3 separate regions of the Homo sapiens genome follow, and all the other regions are linked to region 2. Evidence: promoter capture Hi-C in human tissues and cell types (Jung and others, 2019). All regions are on one chromosome and are shown on one strand. The core of a region is centred on a gene start or on the middle of the fragment in contact, and the rest is flanking DNA. Distances in the headings are between cores, read along the strand shown. Region 1 overlaps PTEN (phosphatase and tensin homolog). Region 2 holds the start of FAS (Fas cell surface death receptor). Region 3 overlaps PTEN (phosphatase and tensin homolog).

Region 1 (2,761 bases), core at 24-2,523, 1.1 Mb after region 2:
TGCTTGCCTTTTCATTTTGAGTCTTTCAATGAGCAGAAATTTTTAATGTTGATAAAGTCAAATTTGTCCATTTTTTCCTTATATAGTTAATTTTATATGTACTGTCTAAGAAATCTTTAAACCAAAAGTCACAGAGATTTTCTCCTATGTTTTCATCTAGAAGTTTTATATTTTTAAATTTTACTTTTACATTTAGGTCAACAATCCACTTCAAATTAATTTTTGTATATGATAAGACATAAAAGTCAAGGTTCACTTTGTTTTCTCTATTGTTCCAGTATTATTTGTTTAAAAGATTATCCTTTTCCCATGAATAATCTCAGCACCTTTGTCAAGAAATGTGTATGTGAACTTTTCTGGAATCTACTCTGTTCAACTGATCTACATCATGTGACCCAACAATTCTACTCAAAGGTATTGAATAAACAGAAACAAAAATATATGTCCACAAAAGTCTTGCACATGAATGCTTACAGCAGCTTTGTTCATAACAGACCCAAACTGAAAACAACTCAAATGCCCACCACACTAATAAAGAAATGTCATATCCATACAATGTAATATTAGTCAGCAATAAAAAAGAACAAATTATTGATACTAGTAACAACAGGGATAAATTTCAAAAATATTATACTAAAAGAAAGAAGCCAGACACAAAAAGGAATACATGCTATATGACTGTATTTATATGTAATCCTAGTATAGGCAAAGCATATAGAAAGCAGATCAGAGATTGCCTGAAACCAGGTTTGGGGACTGACTACAAATGGGCATGAGGGAAACTTTTCATAAAGCGAGTGTTCTAAATCTTGGTTGTTGTGTTTACAAGAAGGTGTGTGTTTACAAGAAGGTGTGTGTGTGTGTGTGTGTGTGTGTGTATTTCTCAAAAGTCAATGAACCGTACATTTAAAATGGGTAGATTTTATTGCATGTAAATTATACTCCAATAAAGCTAATTTTTAAAAGTAATATAAAAAAAGTAATATAAATAGCCTCTGATTTAGAAATATCAGTATGTAAAATGCAACCTACCTTTAAAAAGACTCAAATTTATTTTGATTAAGCTAGAGGACAGCAACAGAAAGAGTACATCAACTTCAGGAATTAGAACTTTTTAGAATGAGAGGCAGAATGACACTGTATAGAACAGCACTGTCTAACAGAACTTTTGCAATAATGAAAATGTTCTGTATCTGTGCTGTCTTAATACAGTAATCACAAGCCACATGTAGCTACTGAGCACAAGAAATGTAGCTAGCAAAAACAACTCAGTAAATTTATTTTATTTTATTTACATTTAAACATAATGATAGCTACATGTGGCTAGTGGCTACCTACACTGGATAACAGATATCTAAAGGATATCTATCTATGAAAAAAAAAATCTGCTGGGATACAATACACATGCTCCCTAGTCAGGTAGTAGAAATGGGTACATCCTTAGAATAGAGCATAAAATTGGAACAGAGAAAAGGTACAGTAAAAATTAGAGACTTCACAGCTGTCAAAATATATACTAAACATATTTTCAACTACATGCAGTTTTCCAATAAATTCTTGCCATGCTTGATTAATTTGCTTCTGTCATTAGATTAGAAAGAAACTACAATTCTGGATATATTTCTAACTAAGAATGAGGAACAAGTTTGAGTGGAAATGCCAGGAAACAGGGAGAAAGTGTTCACATAATTTTAGAGTTCACGTCAGACAAGGAAGGAAATACTGGCGTAGTTAGATATGATACAGATCAGTAAAACAGATTTCAAAAGCTTCATTTAAATAACAGGCTATGAATTCATAACTCAACCTATAATGAAAGACTTGTGGTTTTAAAAACTAAAATTCTGTATAAACAACTACAAATGACTCCAGTTTAAAAAAGACAAAGGAGGAAATACACAAATTATCTAAAATCAACCAACACAGCTGCAGTGAATTTACCTTCAAAGCTCAGATTCAAAACGTACATATATATATTATAATAGCCAAAAAAGGGGATGAGAGATAATTACAGATGAAACAAAACAGCAGCACATATAAAGGAACATGAAAATAGTAAAAACAAAAGGCTTGGAGGAGGGGAGAATGTTCACACCAAAAAGAACAATAAAAAAATTAGGCCAGGTGCAGTGGCTCATGCCTGTAATCCCAGCACTTTGGGAGGCCAAAGCAGGCAGATCACTAGAGGTCAGGAGTTCAAGACCAGCCTGGCCAACATGGTGAAGTCCCATATCTACTAAAAATACAAAAATTAGCCGGGCATGGTGGCACATGCCTGTAGTCCCAGCTACTCAGGAGGCTAAGGCAGGAGAATTGCTTGAACCTGGGAGGCAGAGGTTGCAGTGAGCCAAGACTGTGCCACTGCACTCCAGCCTGGGCAACAGAGTGAGACTTTGTCTCAAGAAAGAAAAAAGAAATTAGACTCCCACACATTAAACAGCTATATAATGCTAAAGACAAGGAAAAAGGCAGGAACTCTTAAATTCCCTTTTCACTTTTATCTTCTCTATCCAAAAGAAGATGATTCAGTAAGTAAGGAGTAGTGGGTACATGACAGTTCTCTTTATTGAAAGCATTTCCTACTTGCTAATTTAAGCAAGGTGACTTTTAAAGAATATTTCTTAATAAACAATCAATAATGCAAAACAAAAGATAACCCACCAAGTTCTTTATGCTATTATTGTTTCATCTGAATTTTGTAGTCACAAAATTCAAATGGCAAGAGAAGCAGAACATTAGACAACTGTCTGAAGAAAGAATA
Region 2 (2,700 bases), core at 25-2,524:
TACTGAAGCTCTCTGAACCTCATTTCGCCATCTGTAAAATGGGGATGTGGTTATCTTCCCCACTACATGGCTCTCGTGAGAATCCGCGGAGATCACATTTGTAAACACTTCTCTCGCTATGCCTGGCACTTTGTTGGGGCCCAATAAAATAAAAATCCATGGACTCTCAGAGGCTCCGGTACTCAAATGAGCCTCCTGGATCCACGTCTCTTTGATTAGCCATCTGCAAGCTGGCATTTCTGAGCGAGGGACTTTTCAAAACAGGCTGCTCAAGTTTCTTGGCCAATAATAGGCGCCGGGTTCTGTGCGGTGGGAACGAGTACCACCAACCCCAGCAGGAGACCAAGCAGAAATCACCATGGGAGTGCAAGCTAAGAAAGGGCAAAAGAAGAAAGAGAAGGGCAGAAAAACAAAACAAAATGAAACCACTCAGGCAGCGACTTACAGTCTTAAAGAGAGAATTCCCGGAAGGGAGACAAGGCAGTTTCTTTTTCTGTGTGACAATAAAAAACGGTAAACAAGCCTCCAGAAGCTCATTCAGCCCCCATATAACTTTTTCGAGAAAGAAAAGGTGCCGTTCTTCCGAGCCCTCCGGCTTAACCACTGCTTCGGTGCTGACTTATTTCCTACGTCTGAGAACTGCCAGAAAATGAGCAATATCTGTTCTGAAGGCTGCAGGCTCTCTCCCCGCCCCCGCGGGGCGGCGCGCACTCACCCACCCGCGCCGGAGCGGACCTTTGGCTTGGCTTGTCAGGGCTTGTCCAGGAGTTCCGCTCCTCTCTCCAACCGGGGTCCCCCTCCAGCGACCCTAAAGCTTCCCAGACTTCCGCTTCAATTCCTGTCCGCACCCCACGCCCACCTCAACGTGGAGCGCAGTGGTCTCCGAGGAGCGCCGGAGCTGCCCCGCCTGCCCAGCGGGGTCAGCACTTCGCATCAAGGCCCAAGAAAAGCAAGTCCTCCAGCGTTCTGAGCACCCGGGCCTGAGGGAAGGTCCTAACAGCCCCCGGGAGCCAGTCTCCAACGCCTCCCGCAGCAGCCCGCCGCTCCCAGGTGCCCGCGTGCGCCGCTGCCGCCGCAATCCCGCACGCGTCCCGCGCCCGCCCCACTTTGCCTATCCCCGGGACTAAGACGGGGTAAGCCTCCACCCGGGCAGGAGAGGGCTCACCAGAGGTAGGAGGGTCCAGATGCCCAGCATGGTTGTTGAGCAATCCTCCGAAGTGAAAGAGCTTCCCCAACTCCGTACTGAGCGGGTCCACCAACCCGCGGGAGAAGAGGCAGCTCCGCCTGGGCAGCCAGGGCTGGCCTCAGGGTGTGTTCCGTGCCAGTGCCCGCCCCTGAGGCTCCAGCCAAGTCACTCGTAAACCGCTTCCCTCACTCCCCAGAAGCGTCTTTGAACACCTGTGTGTCACTCTTGCGCGAGATCAGAGACGAGCTCACGAAAAGCCCCGGTGGTCAGGAGGATGGGAAGGAAGCCTCGCTGGGGAACGCCCGGGTTGGGGAGGGCTCCATTGATTCAGCAACTTGGCCTGCGCGCGGGTAGGGAGGGGGAGAAGTCAGGGTGAGGAAGGAGTCAGGGTTCGTTGCACAAATGGGCATTCCTGTCCCGGGGCGTTCCTGCAGTGGCTGGCATGCTCACTTCAGGTGAGGACCTCGAGAGCCGGCCTCCTGCCCTTTCTAAAGGCTTCTGCTGTAGTTCAACCTGGGAAGTTGGGGAGGTCTTGAAGGAGAATGGAGCTCAGAGCGCAGAGGTCCTGCCTGGGTACAGGAGCCTTGGCTAATTGCTGGAGTCACTCAGAGAAAGACTTGCGGGGCATTTGACTGGGCTGTCCATGTTGTGGCTGCAACATGAGAGGCTCACAGACGTTTCTGGAATGGACAGTTAACCATATGAAAAAGTACAGATGTTGCGCCATAGGGCTCTGAAAAGGGAGGGCCCCTTAGTTTTTATTTCTCAAGAGGAAAACAAAGCTAACAACTTAAGCCAAATCGCATAGCCCCAGCTATATTAAACATTCACAATTACTTCCTGTCCTTCGTTACTCATTATTTCCTGGCCAATTTTCTTTAAAAAAAAATCTTGTAATTCTTTCGTGCTCTGGTGAACACTGTTCAAAGTCACTATTGCTTTGGAACGGTAGATAGCTCTTAGGTAGTTTAGCATGAATTTTACAGAAGGTATGTTTGGATAATGACATCATTACTGAACCTGAATTTGGATGCAGTTCCAGACTGGACACACTAAAGGTTTCAGTATTCCTTTGGCATCGTCCACCAAGCTCTGCACCTCACTCTGCAACCTCTCTCCCTTCCCAATTAGATTCAACCCATTAATAACACATTAATAACCCTTTGCTTAGCCCACTGTTCATCCTTCAGGCTTCCTCTCAGTTGACATTTTCTTCTGGAGCCTGTTTGGGCCCTCAAATCTAGGTTAGGTTACCCTCCTGAGGGCTTTCCATCACCCTGTGTTTTGCATCTGTCACTGCACTTACCACCAGTCTTGTAGGTGTTGATAGGCTTGTCTCTGTTCCACCTTTCAGTAGACTGTTAGTGCCATGAGGAAGACCCTGGGCGTGCCAGCCTTGTGCACACACTCTGAGCATCTAATAGACACAAAAAGAAGTGGGATAAGGAGGATGGTATATGGGCATTCTCTGTATTATCTCTGCAAATTTTTTGAAATCCTAAAACTATTCCAAA
Region 3 (2,700 bases), core at 163-2,662, 1.1 Mb after region 2:
TTGCAGGAAATACATAGGATAAAACAAGCTAAATGACACTATGAGACAGCAAACTGGACAAATTCAGACAGTTTGTAGGACATGACCCATTCTCTCTTCAACAAGCCAGTATCTTTAAGAAAAAAAAAAGGTGGGGGGGTGGTGGGAGGTGGGGGAAGCGGGAGGATGGGTTGCTGCCCTTGATTTTTAAAGATACAAGATTCCTAACAGCCAATTTCATAGGTGCAATGCTGGCCTGGATACTGTTTTAGCCAAACCAGCCATAAAGGACATTTTTGAGCTAATTGGAAACATTTTAATGTGATCCGGGCATTACACAAGATGAAAAGTTACTGAGATGGAAAAGTAGATGTAAATGACTAAAAAAGGCAGGTTTCAAAACAGAATGTACAATGTAATACCATTTGGATAAAAAGAATACGTATATATCCATATAGACATATATAGACAAAAGATTATAAAGTACTAAAAGTCATATATAGGTGGTGGCATGTATATTTTTTCTCATATTTGCTTGTTTTGTATCTTCTATTTTTGCCACAATGTACCTGTATCGTTTCTGTAACAAATTGCTTAAAATTAGATGTTTTATAATTATCTATTTACTAATTGCCATGACAAAATGCTGTCTTGCCCTGTATGTAGAAAAAGCTCTGTATGCATTTTTTAATGCCAAATTTCTACCAAAAAATTATACTAATAAAAGCATCTAAGATTTAAATTACTATGCCCCAAGAACATTTTTTGTCACTTTAGGAACATACAAATTCACCCTCAGCCTCAAAGGGTTTTTATTATAAAGATTCTAAAAGAAAACTATTAGGATTATCATTTTAACATCACAAATATTTGCTGTCATCTACTACTCTCACATAAGAAAGCTGCCCCAACTCTTAGCCAATCTGACATTTTTTTTAAAAACTGAGAAAAATAAATTTAAAAAATTAGAAGAAAGTAGCCTCACTTAAAAATGTAGCTGTTGTTCAATTATCAAAATGTATTGGGATATTATATCCATTCATTTTAAAAAAAAAAGCAGAAGACAGCAGAGGCCTAAAGTGAAATAATCTTAACTGAGTAATCTTAACTCCACCTTAGAAGACAAATGTAAGAAAATGGAAGACGTCAGAAAAAATGAGGCACCAGAAGCAATGGCAGGGAACCCAAAGTGGTTATAGCTACCAATACTCTGGAATTCCTACTCAAAATTATAAATATATTTTGGCCAAAAAATATAAATTCAAATCATCTATGTTTTTTGAACAACGCAACTAAGAATATTTTATTAAAAGAAATAATTATTAGCACTAACAACCTTACCTAACCTAAACCATTAATTTCAGTGAGAATAGTATTAAGATTTTTATCCTTACAGATATGCACAGAAGTACAAAGCCCCTCCCTTGAAATGTGGTCATTCTAACCAGGGCTAAACTTGAATTTATCCTTGCACTATAAATACTAATTAATAATTAGTATTTAATGCCAGCCTGGGGGAACTTCAGGCTGATGTCTATTTTCTGCTGCTATACAATACCACAGACGGGGTAATTTATAAAGAAAAGAAGTTTATTTCACTCACAGTTCTAGAAGCTGAGAAGTCTAAGATCAAGGGGCTGCATGTGGTGAGAGTCTTCTGGATGCATCATAACATGGTAGAAGGCATCACATGGCAAAAGAGGGCATGAGCACATGATAGAGAAAAAGGGGGCCAAACTCCAGAGATAACTAACCCACACCTGCAATAATGGCATTAATCCATTAATGAAGGCAAAGCCCTTATAATGTAACCACTTCTGAAAGGTTCCACCTCATAATAATGCCACATGGCAATGAAGTTTCAACATGAGTTTTGAAGGAAACAACCAAACCATAGCATTCTGCCCCTGGGCCTCAAAACTCATGTCCTTCTCACCTACAAAATACATTCGTTTCATCCCAATAGACCCTGGGAAGCCCCACCTCCATGGCTTTGCTGTACTTAGCCCATGCAGCTTTCACAGGTTAGGGTCTCAAGCCTGAAGTTCTCCCAGGCTGGCACTGTATACTTGTAGCTCTACAGTTCTGAAGCTTTGGTGGTGGGCCTGCTGCCATGGCTCCATTATGCAATGCCCTAGTAGGGACTCTCTGTAGTGACTCCAACCCACATTTCCACCCTTCAGAGGCTCCAAGCCTGTGGCAAGTCTCTCCCAGACTATCCCCATCATCCTTTGAAATCCTGGTGGTGGTAGCCATGTCTCCCACAGCTCTTTCATCCTGTGAGCCTGCAGAATTAGCACCATATAGACGCTGCCAAGGTTTACCATTTGAGTACTCAGCAGTAGCCTAAGCCACACCTGGGCCCCTCTGAACCAGACCTAGGACAGCCAAGGCCCACTGGGTTGAAATATGGGGAGCTGAGGTAGCCCTGGGCAGCAAGCTTGTGAAGGACCACCTGAGCCACAAACCATTCTGCCCTCCTAGAGCTCTGGGCCTGTGATGGGGCAGGCAGCCTCAAAGATCTCCAAAATGCCTCTGGGGTCTTTTTCCACTGTCTTGATAAATAGCCCTTGGGTCTCCTCTAGGAATATTAATCTCTTCAGCAAATGGTTCCTGGACCACACCCTTGGTTTGCTCTCCTAAACATACCTTTTGCATTCTTTACTATGGCCAGGCTGCAAATTTTCCAAGTATTTCCATTCTGCCTCTCTTTTAATTATA

Evidence for each region. The method cuts DNA at HindIII sites, captures the fragments that hold promoters and counts their contacts. A contact is called where the count stands out against the background at its distance.
Region 1: a fragment that was not itself captured here is called in contact with the fragment with the promoter of FAS in region 2 in 1 of the 25 tissues and cell types used here (dorsolateral prefrontal cortex).
Region 3: a fragment that was not itself captured here is called in contact with the fragment with the promoter of FAS in region 2 in 1 of the 25 tissues and cell types used here (dorsolateral prefrontal cortex).

Annotation. Positions count from the first base shown.
Region 1 is chr10:87,917,646-87,920,406 of GRCh38, reverse strand. The region is part of intron 2 of PTEN (phosphatase and tensin homolog); the gene reads right to left. Among named protein-coding and RNA genes, the nearest start is that of PTEN, 55 kb to the right of the region's middle. The HindIII fragment of the contact is 7,122 bases long and covers 1-2,761 here.
Region 2 is chr10:88,989,372-88,992,071 of GRCh38, reverse strand. It overlaps FAS (Fas cell surface death receptor), which reads right to left and starts at 1,274. Exons shown (of 9, transcript NM_000043.6): 1 at 1,166-1,274. The coding sequence starts at 1,195. FAS-AS1 (FAS antisense RNA 1) reads left to right here. Exons shown (of 1, transcript NR_028371.1): 1 at 1-650. It also overlaps a transcript of ACTA2 not described here. RefSeq lists enhancers at 339-418, 549-958, 1,099-1,609, 1,610-2,121 and a silencer at 2,529-2,578. The HindIII fragment of the contact is 1,672 bases long and covers 223-1,894 here.
Region 3 is chr10:87,887,473-87,890,172 of GRCh38, reverse strand. The region is part of intron 1 of PTEN (phosphatase and tensin homolog); the gene reads right to left. Among named protein-coding and RNA genes, the nearest start is that of PTEN, 25 kb to the right of the region's middle. The HindIII fragment of the contact is 7,093 bases long and covers 1-2,700 here.